7 separate regions of the Homo sapiens genome follow, and regions 1, 2, 3, 4, 5 and 7 are each linked to region 6. The links are contacts of gene promoters, found by promoter capture Hi-C in blood cells and fetal thymus (Javierre and others, 2016). All regions are on one chromosome and are shown on one strand. Each heading gives the region's core, a stretch centred on a gene start or on the middle of the fragment in contact. The rest is flanking DNA. Distances are from core to core; before and after follow the strand shown. Region 1 holds the start of ARHGEF17 (Rho guanine nucleotide exchange factor 17). Region 2 overlaps P2RY2 (purinergic receptor P2Y2). Region 3 overlaps P2RY2 (purinergic receptor P2Y2). Region 4 overlaps ARHGEF17 (Rho guanine nucleotide exchange factor 17). Region 5 overlaps P2RY6 (pyrimidinergic receptor P2Y6). Region 6 holds the start of PDE2A (phosphodiesterase 2A). Region 7 has its middle 5.0 kb from the start of P2RY6.

Region 1 (2,700 bases), core at 177-2,676, 630 kb after region 6:
AATTTTAGCAGGAGCTGCTATTTCCTGACTTGCATAGTGGTCAAAGTTACTTCTCCTTCACGGTCCACAGAGAAGGGGTAATAATATTTGTCCCCAAGGGTGGTTTGTGGATTTTAAAAAATAAGTTAAATAATATTGCCCATACATTATAGGTACTCCATACATTTTCATTCGTTCGTTCATTCGTTAGTTGGGCCGGGAGGATGAATGGGATCTAGAGGCAGGTGGGAATGCGGAAGGGGATGATGCCCCAATACCGAGAACAATGTGAGACTCAGACGGAGGCAGGGGCGGGAGGGGAGCTCAAGCGAGGGATCAGCGTGAAGCCAGAGAAACAACCGACACTTTTCCTGCCAAGAAGGTGAAGCAGCTGCGGGTAAGAGTATAGGTTTGGCAGTGGGAAGTCGAGGGCGTTCCCGTCGAAGCTCCTTTTGTGTATAAGGCCTAAGAAGGGGCAGTGCGCTTTGCGAAGGTCTGAAAAAGACTAAGGGGATTAGGTAACGACTGAAAGGAAGTTTTCACAACTCTCCGTTTTTGGGGGATGGGTGCTGCTTTATCCGTCCAGGACTCCGTGCGTTGGGAAAATCACGCCGCGAGGGGGCGCAAGAGCCGCGTACTCCAGAGCAAGAAGAAAAGGCTCGGGGATCCAGGCGGAGAGTCCAGGAGAAGAGCCGCCAGACTGCAGGGGCAGGTGGAAGGCGTGGCAGCTGGAAAAGTAGGGGTGGGGGCGCGGTCGTGAAGGGTGGGACTTCTGGAGCAACGCTGGGCGGGTTGGGGGCCGGTCGGAGCCGGACAGGCGGCTGGGAGGTGGGATGGGCGGGGCGCTTGGGAGCGAGATGGGGGGACAAGGGCGTGGCTACAGCTAAATTCGCCGCAGAGGGCGGGCGGGGAGGGGGAGGGAAGGGGAGGAGGCGTGGCCTGGGCGGGGAGTAGGGCGCGACGGACCCTTCAGTTAGCCCGCGGCTCCCCGGGCTCTCCCTGGCGCCGAGTCCCACCCCTTTCCCGGCCCAGAGAGTGTGCGTCTGCGTGCACCTGAGTGTCAGTGTGTACGAGAGTTTGTGAGTCCGAGGTTGCCATGTTGGAGCCCCTGGGCAGGAGGTGTTTCCGCGCGGAGGCTGGTGGCCCGCGGTGGACGCGGCGCCCTGGCTGCGAGTCTGCGGAGCTGAGCACGCTCAGCGGTTGTGTGTGTCTCAGCGACTCCCTGGGGGCAGCTCGGCCTGCTGGGCTCCCGAGGGACCTCTCTGGAGGGCCAGAGGGTCGCCTCAGTCTGCAAGTCCTCCAGCAGGCTTTTTCTTCTTCGGCTCCTCCCTGATTCCCTCCCACCACGCGGTTCCCAGGCTCGCGCACGCCCGGAGCCCACCCCCTCTTTTGGGCGCGAGGCCCCGCCCCCCGCCCCCTTGCCTCTGCCGCAAAGTTTATTTGCAACAAAAGGGTGCCAGGAGCGAGCAGCCAAGGGCGTTGGGCAGGCGGACGCAGAGTCGAGGAACCAAGCGCTGGGATCCCGCCCAGGCGGTGCCGCGGTGCCCCTGGTCGCTCCAGCCGCGGCGGGGGCTGGGCCTGGGGGTCGGCGCTGAGGCGGGAGGGGCCGCCCGGGATGGAGACGTTGCGGCCGGTGGCCACAGAAACTTGAGCCGCGGCAGAGAAACCTCTGCTCCGGTCTCTGCGTCCTCTTCCCACACTCCCGTGCGCTGCTTTCGGCGTGGGCCGCTGCGCTCCTAGGGAGTGGGGGCGCAGGGGGGGTTGGCCGCGGCTGCCCGAGGCCAGCCCCCCCGGAGTGAGTTACGCCACTATGGCGGACGGGGCACCCCGGCCCCAGCTTTACCGCAGCGTCTCGTTCAAGCTGCTGGAGCGCTGGAGCGGCGGCCCCGGGCTGAGGGAGGAGGACACGGACACCCCCGGCTTGAGGCGACGCGCCTCGTGCCGGCCGACCACGGCTGCCCGGGGCCAGCCCTCTCGGCGCGTGTCCAAGCTGGCGTCTGGGCCCCTGGCCGCCCCCGCGCAGCCGCGCCCGCTCCGCAGCCTCTCGCCGTCGGTTCGCCAGCTCTCCCGGCGCTTCGACGCGCCGCGTCTGGACGACGGCTCCGCTGGGACCCGAGACGGAGGCGTCTTACCCGCGGCCGCGGAAGAAGCGGCCGAGGGCCCAGCGCGAGGAGCCTGGCCCAGCGTCACCGAGATGCGCAAGCTCTTCGGCGGTCCTGGCTCCAGGAGGCCCAGCGCCGACTCTGAATCCCCAGGAACGCCCAGCCCCGACGGTGCCGCGTGGGAGCCTCCGGCTCGGGAGTCGCGGCAGCCACCGACGCCACCCCCTCGGACATGCTTCCCCCTGGCGGGTCTGCGTTCGGCGCGGCCCCTGACCGGGCCGGAGACCGAAGGGAGGCTGCGCCGGCCGCAGCAGCAACAGGAGCGGGCGCAGCGTCCAGCGGATGGTTTACATTCTTGGCATATCTTCTCCCAACCGCAGGCCGGGGCCCGGGCCTCCTGCTCCTCCTCCTCCATCGCCGCCTCCTATCCTGTCAGCCGCAGTCGTGCTGCCAGCTCCAGCGAGGAGGAAGAGGAGGGCCCGCCGCAGCTGCCTGGAGCCCAGAGTCCGGCCTACCACGGCGGCCACTCCTCGGGCAGTGACGACGACCGAGACGGTGAGGGCGGCCACCGCTGGGGAGGGAGGCCCGGGCTCAGGCCTGGAAGCTCCCTATTGGATCA
Region 2 (2,700 bases), core at 38-2,537, 550 kb after region 6:
TCTCTGGCTGCAGGATGGAGAATGGATCAAGTATTGCCAAGTGCAGGGAGGTCAGGGCATTTGTGATGTCAACACTAGAACTGTCCCAGGAGTTGTTTGAACCCTAATTGAGCCCTTGCCCCTTGGCCAAACACTTTTCCCTGAGCCTTCAGATGCTCCTGCTGAGGAATTTGGGGACCTGCAATTGATCTCATCCCAGCTCTGTTCCCAGCTGGTTGAATGACCAGTTCCTGCCCTGCCAGGCTCTAAAAGGAGGCCAGAACAAGTAAGATCCTGCATGGGAGAGTATGTGTGTGGGGAGGCTCTGGCACAAAAGGCTTGTCGCTCTTTCTCCTCTTCTCCCTGCCTTGGGCTGTCTTGGAGTCTGGTCAGAGGGGTTGGGGATCCCAGTGGGCAACCCTCAGAAATGACTACCAAGCTTGGGCTGTGGAGTGAGGCTGTGACTCCTCTGTTTCTGTCTCCCTCCTGCCCTGGATGCATGGGGCTCTAAGGCTGTGGATCCCCCAAGGACCAGCTAAGAAGGTGTGAGGGTATCACCAGGGCCTCATGAGTGACCCCATGAGAGCTTTGACTTAATGGCTATAGTCTTTAGAGAGGCCATTGTCCCTCTCTAGGTGTCAGTTCTGCCATTTGTAAATTGAGAATGGTGATCCTTGCTTCTTTGAGAGCAGAGTTGCTACGAGGATTAAGATAGTGACCAGGGAAGAGCTTTATAAGCCTTAAACTGCAGTGCTCAGAGGAGGAATGTGACACTTGTAGACTTAAATCCATTTTGAAGACTATAAGAGAACATGGGTGCAATAGCAAGGGATTGTGCTTGTTATTGAAATTTGATTACTGAATGCCTTCCTCCCCCACCCCCTCTGCAGAGATGGCTTCACTAGTAACGATTTACAACAATCCATTTTGTCTTCCTATAGCCCTGTGAGGGAGGAATTGTATCTCCATTTTGCAGATCAGGAAATAGAGGCATGGATTGTATCCTGCCCAGGGTCACCAAGCTGAGGTGAAACCTGGGGCTCCAGTCCACCTGCCAGCTTAGCCCTCCCCATCTGAGACAGAGCCCTGTTAGGGTTAGGCCTGGTCCTCTGGCTTCCAGGCTGAGGGGAGTTTGAATTCTGCCCTGGGAACCTGTGTTTGGGGCTTTCTTGTGGCCAGATTACCCAACTGCTGATAAGGTAACGCCTGCCCAGACCTGCCCACGGGACCAGAGATGCCTTGTTGATCTGGTGAGGGGAGTGGGGGTTGCCCCTCATGCCTTCCACCCAAACCGCCTCTCCCCAAACTGCTTTCTGTAGGCCTGCTTGCTATACCCTCTGGGCCACACCTCCTCTTGGTTGTCCTTGGGTCCTGAGGCCTGGCCTTCCCTTATTACTGGGCCCTGATAGGAGGAGGCTGGCTGTGTGGGCCACTCTGACCTCTGTACTCATCCAGCGGCCAGTTGCAGGACTAGGCTAGGCCATACCTGCTTTCTCTCTCTGTCCCCATCAGCCACCACAGGTTGGGCTCAGAGCAGCTGCCAGTGGGTCTTTGGGAAATGAGTGGCCAGGCGGGAGTAGGCATGGAGTAGAAGGGGAGGCTTTGCTCCACGGAGTGCCATAGTTGGTTCTGGAGCAGAGGAGTTCCTCCACCCCATCACCCCATCTCCTAGGCCTGAGTCTTTCCTGGTCCAAGATGAGTAGCGGGAGTTTCTGGTAGGAGGGTGAGCAGCCTGGGCCCCGTGGAACAACTCCTTGACCCTCTGCCCTGGTACCTTGTCACTGTCATTGTAGCTCCTGAATGAGAGGCCTGGGTGCTGGAGTGAGGGAAAGGGACCTCCCTCAGACTTCTGGGGCTTTATGTGGCCTCTCCCTCCCCAGGTCTGAGGAGAGCCTCTGGGTGTCGACCTGGCTTCCTGGTGAGTGCCCAGCCACCCAGCCCTGGCTTGTAGGAGGGGGACTCTTGCCATGGCTGGGCTGTTGCAGGAAATCCAGGGCCAAGGGACCTGCTCCTCTCATGGCACCACCGTATGTGTCGTCTCCTCCTTGGTCTCCCTCCCTCCAGACTCCCTGTCCCATCTACCTTCCATGTGGCACCATCTTTGTAAAGGTTGACTCTGACCATGTCCTTCCCCTCTTAAGCCTTCCATGGCTCCTCAGTGTCCTTAGAATAGAGGCCAAGCTTTTCAGCCTGGCATTTGAGCCTTTTCAAGTGAATTCCTCAGGCTCCCACACATTCCATGCCACCTCACCCTCCACAGTAGCCGTATAAGACCTCCCAGCCTTTTTCCAGCAGGTCACACTTTCATCCACCAAGTCTTTGCTCATGCCTCTCCTGCCTTCAGAGCCCTCCTCCCTCTTTGCCCACCTGACAAACTCCTAATCATCTACCAGTTTCCAGCTCAGATGACCCCTCCTCTGCAGAAGCACTCCCTGACCACCTCCCCCAGGCCAGGTAGGAGTTGCTGTGTGCTCCATAACCCCTGGGCTTGCCTTGGTTATGGTTTATTCACCCAAGTGGATTTGGTCCATGTCTGTGTCTTTTTCCTCAGCCTGACTGGGTACTCCTCAAGGGCCCAGCAGAGTGCAATCTGAGTCTGAGTTCACAAGGTCCATCTGAGGCCAGGTGCACCAGAGCATTGGCAAGTGTTTGCTGGGACTTTGTGGTTCCTGGGAATGTGATTTAAGATTTCATTACTCTGAATCCAGACCCCTGTGGCTC
Region 3 (2,700 bases), core at 31-2,530, 560 kb after region 6:
GCCCTCGCCCTGTGGCCCACTCTGCCTGCCCCCTCTGACCTCTCCACCCTTCCCACTCTGCCTTGTGAAAGGCAGGACATCCCCAAAGCTTGCTGTATTTGGAGCCTGACTCCACAGCGCCCTCATGTGACAGAGACCCATCACAGACCATGACCCAAATGATTACTCTGTACTGTGCCAGGTGGGTGACCTGCCCAGAATAGTGTGAGCTATTCACCTCTCACCTTCTAGGTTCTATACTTCTGTTAATGTAGCCGATGTCCTTCTGAGTTTTTTTTTTCTTTTTGAGACGAAGTCTTGTTCTGTCACCCAGGCTGGAAGTGCAGTGCTGCGGTCTTGGCTCACTGCAACTCTCTGCCTCCCGGGTTCAAGCAATTCTCCTGCCTCAGTTTCCCAAGTAGCTGGGATTACAGGTATGCGCCACCACACCTGGCTAATTTTTGTATTTTTAATAGAGACAGGGTTTCGCCATGTTGGCCAGGCTGGTCTCAAACTCCTGACCTCAAGTGATCCACCTGCCTCAGCCTCCCAAAGTGCTGGGATTACAGGTATGAGCCACCGCACCCGGCCCCTCTTGAGCTTTCTTAATGATTGCCTGTTACAAACCACCCTTGAGCCTTTCCCACAGGCCCGAGCCACTCCACAAGGACACAGGAGGGGCTCGTTCACCATCTAATCCTGTGGCAGGCACAGGTGGGGGTGGATACTGGAGACCCTGGGTGAACCAGGGGCACCTCTGGAACCCAGTTGGACTGCCTGGCCCCTTGGTATGCACGTCCCACCTTGCTGCTCAGTGCCCAGGCCACTTGCCTTGTGGGTGAAGTTCCTGCCCTGATGCCTCATGCTATTTTCAGCCCAAGTAAGACCATAATTTTCCACTCCTGGCCCCAGACCATTGTCCAGCAGTGACGTGAGGGGATCTGCCTGCCCTCAAAATATCTCCTATTACCCTCCAATATTCCCTGCCCCCTTCACACCTCCCTAACCTGACATCACTTCCTGGGCTGTTGACTCATGAAGGCCACTGTGAAAGGGCACGTGAGTTGCCCATCCACTGAGCAGACCCCAGGGATTATCCAGCCCAGCTGCAGACTCAAGGCCAGAGATGGGCAGGGCTGAGCCCAAGGTCATTCAGCAGGTCAGCGTGGCGCCTGGATGTAAGCAAGTGCCTTGGTGACGATCCTGCTGTCACTCACACTGCCCAGCTCTTCCTGCCCAGGGTGACTGGGATGGAGCCATAGACCTGAGGCCAGGGACAGGACAGGGATGGGAGGAAAGGGAGGGTAGAGAGTTGAGTGTCAGGGAGTAAATGTCTGCTGATGTGCCTGCAGCAGCTGTTCTCAATGAACTGCATGACATCAGGGCAGGGTCCCTGGCACACAGGGGTCTCTGCCCTGGGTGGCAGGTGTCCCAGGGTCCAGGAGGGATGGAGGAACCCCAGGGTACATTCCCACTTTCACCCCCTGAGGTTAGAAGAGGCCCTAAGCAACATGTTATCCACACATGGTTGCTCCAGGTCAAGTCACCAAAGCTACCTCTCTGTCACCCTTGTCATGGCAGATTTGGGCTGCTCTGTTTAGAATCAGGCACATGAGGGAGGGAAGTCGTGTATTGACCCATGTCCCACGCACCCTCTCATCTATGTTATATGGTGGATGCTTCACAGAAGCCCTGGGAAGTAGATGCTATGATCCTATTTAGCAGATGAGGAAACAGGAGAAGGGCGTGAGAAGTGAGGACTTGTTCCAGGTTATCCAGGCTGTCAGGGTGAGTCAGAGTGAGTCCAGGTTCACCTGATGGCCAGAATCATGCCCTTTATAGTGCCCCACGACACTCACAGCCCTGCAGGGCAGAAGGGTCTATAAGTGGCCCCTCGCATGATTCAAGATGACAGAGGCAGTGTAGCAAGGATGTGAGAACACAGATGCTCCACCCAGACCACCTCAGTGTCAATATTGTCCCCACTTTCCTGGCTGGGGTCTCTTGGGCAAGTTACCTAATCTTGCAGCACCTCAGTTTTCCCATTTCTAAAGTGTGCTGCTACCTTCCATGCAGGGCGTTGAGGGGCTTCCCTACGTTATTACGCACAAAGTCCTCCTCACAGTGCCTGGTGTGTGGTCAGCATTTATATGCCTGGCACCAGGCCGGGGGCTATGGAGGCAAATCAGCTGGGCCCTGCCCTCACAGAGTTGACATCACTTAGTACGTAACCACATTGGGATACATGTTTTGAAGGAGAGGACAGTGTGTCTGGCCAGTGAGCAACAGTGGGCCATACGTCTCCAGGGAACCCCCGTGGGGTGTGGGAGGAGGGAAGCAGGTCTGTCCTGGGGGAATGTGTGGGACCACCTCTGCCCTGCTTGGCAGTAGGTGGATTTCAGGACCATGGGCCTGTGCTGTTTACAGAACCTTGTCCAGGTGCCCAGCTGTGGGAGGGCAGCATGGAGAGGAGGAAGAGGGGGCCCCTAGTAGCAAGCTTCAGAAACTTGCCACTTCAGGCTAGAGAGCTCGCACCCTCCCACGGCAGCAGGGTAGCCATTTCTCCCTGACTGGGGTGTCCACCATGGTGCTCTGCAGCCACCTCTCACTTCATTAAGAGTCCACAGATCTAGGAGCAGAGGACTGGTCTGGAGCTGGGCAAGGGCAGGCAGCAAATGGGGAGTTTTTGCTGTGTGACCTGAGGTCACTTGCCTGCCTTCT
Region 4 (2,700 bases), core at 164-2,663, 650 kb after region 6:
CCTCTCTGCTTCGGAGGTAACAGACCTCTAAGGCTCTGGGATGTGGAGATGTGGGTGGGAGCCCCCAGTTTGCCCCGTGACCCAATGCTTGATTCTGGTCGGGTGGATCCACCCATGCCAAGCCCTCCTGTTCCTGGCACGAGGTGGAGCCTGGGTACACGTTTATTAAATAAATAATGTGGGGGAGGCAGGAGGAGGACAGCTGAGCCCTGCCCTGGGGGAGCGCCCAGGCTCCTCTCAGCTCCCCTTACCACCCATGCCTATGCCTAGCCCTATGTTGCTGCTGTCCTGGGGACCAGGCAGGTGGAAGCTGGCAGATGGGCAAAGGGTGCCGTCCCGAGTCGGCACTGATTGGGGGTGGGATGGGAAGCAGACACAGGCCCAGAGAAGGTGAGGGTGCTTAGCTCAGGTCACAGAGCCCAGAAAGAGAGAGGTGGTATTCAAACCAGGATAGTCTCACTGGGTTGGAGTTCAGACCCAGATGGTCTGGCTCCAGAACCCGTGCTTAGGCCCCTGGCTTTCAGGACTGCCTGAGTTGGGGGCAGTGCCATCATCAAGGTGGGCACAGAAAGAAAGGGTGGATTTTGCTTTGGACATAGTGATCCTACTGGATTCACAGTCCATGGTCTGAGTCCCAGGAACCAGCACATAGTAGTTGCTCAGTAAATATTAGTTGAATGGCTCAGTTGCACTTGAGAGGCCCTTGGGGAGTGGGAGGAGGTGACAGGCACAGAAGGAATGAGTGTTTCCTCCCTTTATGGGCCCAGGGACCCTTCTCTTGGTGCTGGAAAGCAGCTGAGGTGGGTGCTGGGCTTTCTGCTGGCGGAGAGAACTCAGCCCAGGAGTTTGGGAAGGTGGAGAGATGGGCCACGGGCAGGTGAAGGGGAGACAGGCAGGCCAGGCAGTGCAGTGCAGTCCCGTTTGCAGTATCTGGAAAGCAGATCTCTTGGGCCATGGCCGGCGTGACTCAAATGGAGACAAAAAAACCTTCCATATTTGGACAAAGAGCCCAGAGAGGCCCAGACCCGCAGCCAGCCCAAACCTCCCCCACCCCCAGCCTCCTGCCCTGTCTCCCTCTGGGCCCCTAGCCCTGAGTCCTGTCCCATGAGTTGAACTCTTGGGCCTCAGTCATCAGGTCGCTTCCTGTGTGGCCAGGCCTGGGCTGTGGGTGCTGGGGAAGAAATTTCGTTCCAGGGCTGGGCCCTGTGCTTGGGCTGGAGATGTAGAGAGGAGCCCTGCTGGAGCCTGCGGGCTGGAGGGGAGCACACTGAAACCAACAGTTCCCACACTGTGGGGTAAGCTGACAGCAAACCCCCACCCATCTCAACACAGGCAAAGCTTGAGGAGCATCGCATATAGGCATTGTACACACACACTCTCTCTCTCTCTCTCACTTTCTCACTTTTCAATCCCCAGCAGATTTCCATACCCACAAAGACATCTGTACAGATATCAGGAGTGAGGACCGAGCCTGAGACCTTCCCTGGAGCAAGCTTTGATGACAGCAAAGTTGGAGTAGATTGGGGCAGCCAGATGTCAACAAGTAACATAAACAGGCATTATCCATCTGGAGAGATGTGAACAGAGCAATTTGCTCCTGTACCACCCTCTGAGTGTCCAGCAAGGGGCGGGGCTGGGCAGTGGATGCCAGAGCCTGGTGAGTGGGGAGAGGGCCTAGGCCGCTTCCTGCCTGGGAGCAGACCTTGCTCCCATGGGACAGCCCAGCCATTTGACTGAGAACCGGGGTGTTCACTGTCATTGGTGGATTGACTGAGCCCTGACTGCACAGATGCTTCTACCTTTTCTAACTAGTCTTGGATAATTAACGCTGAAATAAGCTCTGAGTGGCGGGTTGGGGGAACCCAGGGGAACCTTTAAAATTCAATTGCACTGTGGCCCACTGGTGCCTGTATGTGCAGGGTTAGCATGGGGGCCGCAGGGTGAAGGAGAAGGGGTTCCTGACCCAAGAAGCCCCATCTGAGAACTGGGGGTCGAAGGAGGCCAAGAAGGGTGAGGGCAGGGAAGGCTAACTTAGGGCAGTGGCTGGAATCTTGAAGGACTAGCCAGACCTTGACAGGCAGAAATGAGCCAAGGCCCTTCAGGGAGAGAGAACTGCAAAGGTAGAGGCCTGTGATGGAGAAGCCCTGGTGTGTCTGGGGTACCATGAAAGCTCCCTGGTTCTGGAGAGGTCAGGTGGGCCCCGGGAGTTCCTAAAGGCCAGGCCTAAAAGCCTGGACTTGATCCCAGAGTGGTAATTTCCAAGCTCACGGCTGTAATCCCAGCACTTTGGGAGGCCGAGGTTGGGAGGCCGAGGAGGGCGGATCACCTGAGGTCAGGAGTTCAAGACCAGCCTGGTCAACATGGTAAAACCACATCTCTACTAGAAATACAAAAATTAGCTGGGCCTGGTGGCATACGCCTGTAATTCCAGCTACTCGGGAGGCTGAGGCAGGAGAATCGCTTGAACCCAGGAGGTAGAGGTTGCAGTGCACCGAGATTGCACATTGCACTCCAACCTGGGCAACCAAGAGTGAAACTCCGTCTCAAAAAATTAAAAAATAAATAAATGAATAAAAATAAAAATAGTGGAACCTTTTCTTCTAGAGGAATCTTGACACAGAAGTATAAAGCAGGCTGATCTCATTGATTTAAGTGAAAGTAGGGTCATGTCTGCCCCCTGGACCACATCTCACGCCATGT
Region 5 (2,700 bases), core at 192-2,691, 610 kb after region 6:
TGCTCACGTTTAATCTCTATCTGCTCCCAATCCCCAATAAACACATACTCTTAAGTACAAACTACAGCTTGCTACATGAATAGCCTCAAGCCAAGACCCCCGTGCACCCAGTCCTCTCTGTGTAGACATAATTGAACCACGTCTGGAATTTATTTGTTCATTCACTCAACAAATATTTATTGAGAACCTACTATATGCCAGACACCGTCCTAAGTACATGCAGCAGTGAAAAAAAAACACGAAAACCCCTGCCCTGGTGGAGTTTATGTTCAGTCATGAGAGAGAGACAATAACCAATAAATAAGTAGAACAGTGTATTAAAAGATTTTAAATGCTAAGGAGAAAAATATAGCAGAGAAGGGGCGTAGGAATCACACATGCACATGCGTTGCGTAGGGGTTTATAATTTTAGCTTAGAGTGGTAGGAGAAGGTCCCATGGAGAAGGTATCATTCGAGTGACCACCTGAGGGGGTCTGTCCTACGTCCCTTTTTTGAGACAGGGTCTCGCTCTGTAGCCAAGGCTGGAATGCAGTGGTGTGATCATAGCTCACTGCAGCCTTGGCCTCCCAGGCTCAAGCGATTTTCCCACCTCAGCCTCCCAAGTAGCTGGGGTTACAGGCACACGCCAACACATCCAGTTAATTTTTAAACATTTTTTGGTAGAGACAGGCTTTCTCTATGTTGCCCAGCCTGGTCTCGAACTTCTGGGCTCAAGTGATCCTCCCGCCTTGGCCTCCCAAAGTGCTGAGATTCCAGGCGTGAGCCACCACACCCGGCCTGTCCTGTGTTCTTCATGCACACTCCACAGCAGGAGCCACTGTTGCCTGCTGACCTCCTACATTGCACTCTGAATGAGGTAGTTGCCCCTTACTTTGATCTCTTCCTCCCAGGCCACCCCTTGGACACCCACAAAGTCCTCTTCCTCCCACACTGGACTGGCCACAAACAGGCCAGTTTGAGGGTGAAGATTTGGGGTTTGGCGACAGGCAGTCCTGCTGATTGGAAGATCACTGACGGATTGGTGGCCCTGGCAAGTAACTAAGCTGTTGGGGGCCTTAGTTTCCTCCTCCCAAAAGAAGAGACTATGCCCCCCTTACAGGCCCCAGGCAGGCAATGAAACAGGACAGAGGGTAGCAAAGGGTTTTGTCTTCAGGTTTGAAAACAGCCACAGACCACGGCCTCATCCTTGAGGATCCACCACTAGGTCTCCTGGGACCTGGACATGTGCCTGAAATTGCCTGGTGAGAATGAAGACCAATAGATGGATGGTCTTGGGACAACCTCTGCAGGGTGTCCTGGGGCAGCCAAGCTATATGGCCCCAGAGGCAAGCTGGACTGGTGTGGGAGAGCAGTCACTAGGGACAGATCTTGGGGCTTGGTGTGACAAAGCATATCTCCCAGTGAGCTTTCTCAAGGTGGAATGCAGTGGCCTAGGAGAGGAGTGAGCTCCCTGCAATGGGAAGTATGCAGGCAGGGGCCAAACAAGCCCAGTCAGGGAGGCTTCAGAGAGCCCCCTTCTCTGAGGGGATGATGGGGAGACCTCTGGGTCAGGTGACCTTAAGGCCTCCCTAGCCCTGAGGGTCCAGAACTCAGAGGCCTGTCATTGACCCCTGGGTCCAGCTGGACGTCTTATCACTGCCAGGTGGGCTCAGGCCCCAGGAAGAGCTAGGGATGATCAGAACAGGAATCAAGGCAGGGGCTGCCTTTCACGGGAGGGGAGGAGTTCCCTGAGGCTCCCCTTCCACACCCAAACCTTACCTGTACGAGTTGTGGACAAAACTGCCTACCTTCGGGCCTCAGGGTCTGCCTGGGAAATGGGCAGGATCATAACCCACAATAACCACTTGGCGGGGTTAGTGGTCTGCCTTTCCTGAGGTGGGGACTGGGGGACCCAAGCAGTCTCAGAGGTGCTACTCCTGAACCCATTACCTTCATTCTCCTTGACAAATCTTCTCTGTCATCAGTCAAGACAAAGATTTAAAAAAAAAAAAAAAATGGAACCAGGCAGCACCGAGGACAGAGCCCCGGCGCTCATCTTTATAGACTGGATCCAGTCATCCAACATTTCCCAGTGCCTCTTGGGCCAAAGCCTATACTGGTCTCTGAGGCTCCAGAGGCAAAGCAGACCTTGTCCCCTGTTCCTAGCAGAGTTAGAGAAGGAAAGGGAGGGAGTCTGACACCGCCCCTTCGACTGGTCTTCTTCTCTGCCCTGACTCTTGACCTCCATTTCTTTGTCCTTTCTTAAGCCACTCTTCCTGAGAGACAGGGTATCATGGTGGATTTATAGTGCACTTTGGGCAAGTTCCTAACCTCTCTGGCCTCAGTTTTCTCGTAGGGAAATGTCACCTGTCTTCCTGGGCACAAGGTGCAGATCTACAGGCAGGACTCCTAGTTTCAAGTGACAGAATCCTAGGTTAAATGGATTGAGGCAAAAAGGGAGTTTATCAGCTCATGACACCAAAGGTAAAACCTCAGGCACAGCTGAAACCAGGCACTCAATGCTGTTCTCAGGAAACGATGCATCCCCATCTCTCATCTCTGCCATTCCTTGGCTTTCTATGTGGATAGTCTCCTCCCTGGTGGCAGTATCTCCGTCGCCCAGGACAATGCCTGGAACTTAGTTCACTTGGCTCCAGCAGCTCCTGCCTCACTTTCTACTAACTTTGCAAATATTGTGGAAGACCTGTCTCCTTCCTGAT
Region 6 (2,700 bases), core at 38-2,537:
TGCACATGGAACAGATAAAAAATGCACACTGATTCACTCTATTTTGCAGACACAACACACATAATATACAAACTCAACCTAATAGACACACCTACATACATATGCAGACCAACCTGCACTCACACTCAGACACATGCGAATAAACTCTCACTCACACAGGGATGATCACAAACTCTGACAGGCTGCTTTACATCCAACCACCAAGGACCCTAGAGCTCTACAGGCCCCTCTACACCCAACATGTCCCTTACATTCCACATGTATACACACACACACACACACACATACCCTGCCTACCACCTCGGCAGCCCTTAGTAGAGGGGTGTCGCCACGGCGCCCCCCACTCACTTGCACATGCACCCCCCTGCACGTGGACACACACGAGGCTGGCACCATATTCCATCTGGCTCCGTAGAACCCTATCCTGGGACAGACGCTTTGGGGTAAAGTTTCATAAAGTGGTGTCCCTGAACCCCAATTCCCAATTCCATGGAAGGTGGTTACCTCTAACCCTCTCTTGCTCCAGGGCCACTCTTATTCATATTTTCTCCATCTTTCCCCCTCCCCACCTCCTTCACACACACATAGCCTTGGTGGGCCAAGACACTCTCCCTCTCCGGGTCCTGAACCAGCCTATTGCAGCCCCGAGAGCTCCTCCCAACTACTTGGCAGACCTCCCCCTCCCCACATACACCCTCAGCCCTTGAAGAACCGGTTCAGGTTCATTATCAGCCCCTCCTCCAACCAGCAGCCCCTTCCATGGGACCCCAGCCTCATCACCTACTAGGTTGACGTTAGACACCCTCATTCTGCTCAGAGGTAACCTGCCCCCACCCCAGGCTGCAGTCTGGCAACGCGGGGAGGAGGGGTGCCCAGGAACAGGATCGATCCTTCCACGTGGCTCAGCTCCATGCCAACCCCAGCTCCTTGGAGGGACTCCCAGGACCCTGTCTGTGGCACCTCTCACAGCCGCTCACCACCCCAGCCCCTCACTATACTCACGGCTCAGCCGGTCGCGCTGCCGGGTACTGCTGGCTCCTGCAGAGGATGGAGTGGCCGCATGCCTGCCCCATCACTCCTCATCGTCCGCCTCCCCAGCCAGACTAAGGTGGCACCTCGCCCTGTCCCCGCTGCCTGGAGTTCAGGGCAGGGCACCCCCAGCAGGCACAGGGACCAAGAGCAGTGGGCTGCCCCCTACTCAGCCTGGACTCAACACCCCAATCCAGCTCTGCTGCCCCGCTGCTCCCGCCTCTCCCGCTGCCACTGCCTCTGCTGCTCGGCTGGCTCTGGGAGGAGGTTGGAGCAGGTCTGATAATGCAGAAGGGGGAGGGAGGAGGGAGGAGGAACAGAGAGAGGCCCAGACAGAGAGGGAGAGAGGGAGAGAGGGAGGGGTAGAGAGAGAGTCTGACTGGGAGAGAGGAAAAAAGACTCACAGACAGAGAGACTGAGAGATAAACAGAGACAGGAAGGGGGACAGTAACACATGAAGAGGGAGAGGAGAGAGGGATCAGAGCCTTAGCGAGATCAAGATGGAAGTACAAAGAGACCAGAGAGGCATAGAGAAACACACACACAGAGGAACAAAGGCAGAAAAGGAAAAAAAATCAGAGGCAGAAATAGAAAGAGAGTGGGGTAGGGGGAAAGGGGAGTGGCTGACAGAGGAGAGAGGGGAGAGGACGAGGGATTTACAATCCTCATGGGCTAGGATGGGGCTGGGGACTTGAGGGGCAGCAGACCCAGACCCTCTGCTGCCCCATCGCAGAAGCCTTCAGGATGAGGGGACACGCTTGTGCCCTCAAGTCTGAGAGATCAGGCCTCCATGCACAGCTAGCTGCCCTCTCCTCTGGGCTCCCTCACCCGGTGTGTATCATCTCCTAGCGTGCATCCCAGCCTGGAGCTGGGTCCACGGAAGACTTAGGGGGCTTTACTGATGGCCTTTGGACTCAGAGCCTTGTCACAGGGCCCACCTCTTGGTGGCTTGGTTTAGCTGGGACTTGGAGCTGATGCGTGAGCATGGACTTCTACCAGGATCTGTGGAGACCTAGGCCACAGCCTGCCCCACATGGCCTTCGCTGCTCACAGACTACAGGCATGGGGGAAGGCCTGTTGCACCCCCACCCTGCTTCCAAAGAGGACTCCCTAGGATAAAGCTATAACCTAGTGAAATAGAGGCATTTTAGGCCCTAGGACAGATAGAGAGTTGTCACAGCAGAGCTACTATTGTATGCAGGAGAAACAGCTCCACACCTTGAGGCAGGAAATGGGGATTTGGATCCTGGCTTCACCATTAACTTACTTATTCATTGGCCTACCAGTGGCTGAGCTCATGGCTCACACTATCCCTTGTCTCAGAGAAGCACTCGGGCTGGGGAGTGGGGAGGGGAGACTTGCAGGCTGTGACAGAAAGAAGCACAGGGTCTGTGAAGCCCAGAGGGACCCCTGACCTAGTTTGGGTGGTGGGGGGGCGGTTAGCAAGCATTTCTGGAAGAGAGGGTCCAAGCTGGGTCTTTTAAGGCAGAAGAGGGTATATTCCAGGGTAGAGGAGCTACAGCAAACCCTCCACAGCAACCCCATCTCTCTGAGCTGTGGGGAGAATACCTCCCCGCCACACAACAGGCTTCAAGCAGAGAAGTCCCTGAGGCTGAATAGAAACCTGACCCATGTTGAAGAACATGGGGGTGCACGGTGGAGGGGGCAAGG
Region 7 (2,700 bases), core at 41-2,540, 590 kb after region 6:
ATTTTTAGGACTGACTGAGTGCCTGGATATTAAGTGGCTGGCACAATCTCTGATACATAGAAATCCTAACAGCTGGTGACAAAACTATGATGATAGTAATGGTGACCCCCACACAACTGGGTCCCTGCCCACCCCAGGAACTCTCAGTTTTCACAGAGCCAGTGATTCCAATAAGCTGTGTGGGTAGGAATCAGAGAGTCCCTATTTGAGTATCTCTGAGGGATCCTTTCCCATTCCCAGACTGAATCCTTGTTGAATTCTCAGTGACCACCTGCTTCCTGGGAAGATGCAGTCTGGGAGAGGACAATGCAGGTCTCTGTCAAAGCCTGGGATGGAGCGTGGGAGAGAGGTTGGGGGAGAAATGCAGGGGCAGCCATGGGCTTGGATGGAGGCTTCTCAGTCCTGACAAACCCTGGAGGAACCGAAAAATGCTGGCCCTGTGTATGTGTGTGTTTGGGAACTGGCAGGGGCAGGAGCCTGGGTTGCCCTCTGCCTGGAATGAGGAAAGTCCAGTACAGGATCAGGAATATTAGTCCCTGGACCAAGACAGGCCCTGAGAGCTGAAAGGGAGGCTGTGAGGTCAGCATTGAGCTGCAAGCAGAAGTGGACCAGGAGGCTCCCCGCAGGCTGAGCCTTGTTTCTGGGGCTAAAACTTCTGCATTGGCAGAGCAAGTGCCCCTGTTCCTGTTGACTTCATTGAGTCAGTTTAGAGGAGTTGCCCGGAGGCCTTGGAGGACAAGGGGACATAAAAGGCAGTGTTGGGAGCTGTGGAAACATCTGGGGAGGGAACCTAAATATATCTCATGGTGACGGGGTGCCATGATGGGCCAGTGCAACCTCGGGCACCACAGAGGCAAGCCACTGTCCCCACTGTCCCTAACAGGGAGTACTGCTGCCCCAGAGGCCCTGAGAGCTTCTCTGGAAGGTCTGGACAGAGCCCTCCTGGGGAGAAGGAGGCCTGGCCCAGCCCTGACTTTCTGAGTGATAAGGCCAGCTGTCTTCTTAGCTGTCAGGGAGGTGGGACCAAGTGATGCTGTCGTCACTTCTGGCCCTGATTTCCTTTAATCCCCAATTCTGGCTATAATTGTTTATAATTCCACACCCCTAGCCCTAAGAGTCTATAATTACTCAAACATTCTAGAAGTCTACAATTCGAACTCCAACTTTCTACACTCCAAAGCTGTAACATTCCCCAATTCTGGCTCCAATGTTGGAGGATTCTGGCCCTGGCTTTGGCAGTCTGACTCTTGTAAACTTATAAACTCCCAAGGAAGAGGTTACTTCAGCAGAATCATGTGAGAAGCCCCAGAAAAGGTCTCCTCCCTGCCTAAGCCAGCCTGGAGTAGAGGCAGGTGCCTGGTAAAATGGCCATATGCTCTCTGGGGTGGATGACAGTGAACCCAGAGGCCCCTCCTCATCAGAGCAGCAGAGTTGCTGGGAGTACCTCACAGCTCTCAGGGGACGGTGGCCCTAGAGCAGAGAAAGGTTCAGATCTTGGATTGTAGGCACCCCTCAGGATGAGGGAATTGTGGAGTCACTGGGCACCTTGCAAGGCCATCAAAAGGAAGGAGAGAGAGAACAAGAAATGGGGCTGAAGAGACCTCAAAGGCAAACCTCATTCTCTCTGAGAGACCTCAGGTTGTAGAAAAGACTCCTGTGGAGCCAGCAGGAGCAGCATCGTTGATGCACAGCCATGTCTGAACTCAGCATAGGCTGGGGGGTGGAGAGCTCCAAAATTCACAGTGATTAGCTTAAAACCTTGCCTTGAGCTGGCGACAAGCAGGACTGGTAGCTGACTGAGCAAGCTGGGGACAATCCTCCCATAGAAACCTTTGCCTACTTTCTGTGAGTATTCTGACCAGGACTTATGTGGGATGGCTGAAGAGGGTGAGCCAGACAAACCATCTGTGTTCTTGGGGAAACCTGTTAGCTTCTCTGGGAGGGGCAAAGGAAGGGCTTGGGCATCCAAGGACTCAGCTCTTCCTCTCCCATCTCTTTCCTGGTTATGAAAGCTCTTCACATGCAACTTGCTGCTGAGCTAAGCTAGAACACTATGTAAGCTGGCTGGAAGTGGGTCCATGCATGTGATGGTGCCTGCGTGCCTGCCGTGGGTGGTGTGTTCCCAAGTGTGGCAGGTGCCAGGGCACGTGTGCATATGTATGTGTGAACCTGTGTGAGTTATGTGGAGCTGTTTCCGGGGCTGGGTGTGCTGTGCATGCACCAGTGCAGAATTGCACCCACAGGCATGTGCTCCTTACAACTCTGTTAGGTCTCTGTGGCCTCTCTGTGGTTTCCTATGATGGAAGGCAAACAGCAGACCCCAGACTCTGGACAGTATGAGGGGCTCAGGCTGCAGAGAGGGAAAACCTCTGTGGCTCAGCAAGAAGGCCTAGCCCTGGCCAGACATGGTGGCTCACGTTTGTGATCCCAAAACTTTGGGAGGCTGAGGGAGGAGGATCGATTGAGACCAGGAGTTCGATACCAGCCTGTGCAAACTAGAAAGGCCCTGTCTCTACAAAAAAAAATACAAATTTAGCCAGGCGTAGTAGCTTATGCCTGTAGTGCCAACTACTTGGGAGGCTGAGGAGGATCATTTGAGCCCAGGAGGTCAAGGCTGTAGTGAGCTGTGTGTTTGCACCACTGCACTCCAGTCTGGGTGACAGAGTGAGACCCTGTCTGGAAAAAAAAGATGTCCAGTCT

Evidence for each region. Contacts are between HindIII fragments. The CHiCAGO score rates a contact against its expected background, and 5 or more counts as called.
Region 1: a contact is called between the fragment with the promoter of ARHGEF17 here and the fragment with the promoter of PDE2A in region 6, in 4 of 17 cell types (neutrophils, total B cells, naive B cells and 1 more). The highest score is 10.6, in neutrophils.
Region 2: a contact is called between a fragment that was not itself captured here and the fragment with the promoter of PDE2A in region 6, in 1 of 17 cell types (neutrophils). The highest score is 7.1, in neutrophils.
Region 3: a contact is called between a fragment that was not itself captured here and the fragment with the promoter of PDE2A in region 6, in 1 of 17 cell types (neutrophils). The highest score is 5.4, in neutrophils.
Region 4: a contact is called between a fragment that was not itself captured here and the fragment with the promoter of PDE2A in region 6, in 1 of 17 cell types (monocytes). The highest score is 5.3, in monocytes.
Region 5: a fragment that was not itself captured here is called in contact with the fragment with the promoter of PDE2A in region 6 in 2 of 17 cell types (M0 macrophages and neutrophils); the score reaches 7.0 in M0 macrophages.
Region 7: a contact is called between a fragment that was not itself captured here and the fragment with the promoter of PDE2A in region 6, in 1 of 17 cell types (neutrophils). The highest score is 5.6, in neutrophils.

The regions. Positions count from the first base shown.
Region 1 is chr11:73,306,850-73,309,549 of GRCh38, forward strand. It overlaps ARHGEF17 (Rho guanine nucleotide exchange factor 17), which reads left to right and starts at 1,427. Exons shown (of 21, transcript NM_014786.4): 1 at 1,427-2,700. The coding sequence starts at 1,790. It overlaps ARHGEF17-AS1 (ARHGEF17 antisense RNA 1), which reads right to left and starts at 2,512. Exons shown (of 3, transcript NR_147696.1): 1 at 1,823-2,512; 2 at 1,033-1,715; 3 at 662-707. RefSeq lists silencers at 799-938, 1,339-1,668, 1,899-2,118 and enhancers at 1,539-2,416, 2,422-2,700. The HindIII fragment of the contact is 10,810 bases long and covers 1-2,700 here.
Region 2 is chr11:73,220,355-73,223,054 of GRCh38, forward strand. The region is part of intron 1 of P2RY2 (purinergic receptor P2Y2); the gene reads left to right. Among named protein-coding and RNA genes, the nearest start is that of P2RY2, 3.4 kb to the left of the region's middle. The HindIII fragment of the contact is 1,742 bases long and covers 417-2,158 here.
Region 3 is chr11:73,236,978-73,239,677 of GRCh38, forward strand. It overlaps P2RY2 (purinergic receptor P2Y2), which reads left to right. Exons shown (of 3, transcript NM_002564.4): 3 at 1-2,700. Among named protein-coding and RNA genes, the nearest start is that of P2RY2, 20 kb to the left of the region's middle. RefSeq lists enhancers at 232-281, 867-1,161. The HindIII fragment of the contact is 2,388 bases long and covers 87-2,474 here.
Region 4 is chr11:73,324,176-73,326,875 of GRCh38, forward strand. The region is part of intron 1 of ARHGEF17 (Rho guanine nucleotide exchange factor 17); the gene reads left to right. Among named protein-coding and RNA genes, the nearest start is that of ARHGEF17-AS1, 16 kb to the left of the region's middle. RefSeq lists an enhancer at 1,152-1,803. The HindIII fragment of the contact is 155 bases long and covers 1,337-1,491 here.
Region 5 is chr11:73,284,595-73,287,294 of GRCh38, forward strand. The region is part of intron 1 of P2RY6 (pyrimidinergic receptor P2Y6); the gene reads left to right. Among named protein-coding and RNA genes, the nearest start is that of P2RY6, 14 kb to the left of the region's middle. The HindIII fragment of the contact is 4,518 bases long and covers 1-2,700 here.
Region 6 is chr11:72,673,135-72,675,834 of GRCh38, forward strand. PDE2A (phosphodiesterase 2A) reads right to left here and starts at 1,288. Exons shown (of 31, transcript NM_002599.5): 1 at 1,003-1,288. The coding sequence starts at 1,073. RefSeq lists enhancers at 1-483, 484-1,109, 1,110-1,736, 1,737-2,361, 2,512-2,700. The HindIII fragment of the contact is 6,386 bases long and covers 1-2,700 here.
Region 7 is chr11:73,265,945-73,268,644 of GRCh38, forward strand. It overlaps a transcript of P2RY6 not described here. Among named protein-coding and RNA genes, the nearest start is that of P2RY6, 5.0 kb to the right of the region's middle. The HindIII fragment of the contact is 2,895 bases long and covers 1-2,700 here.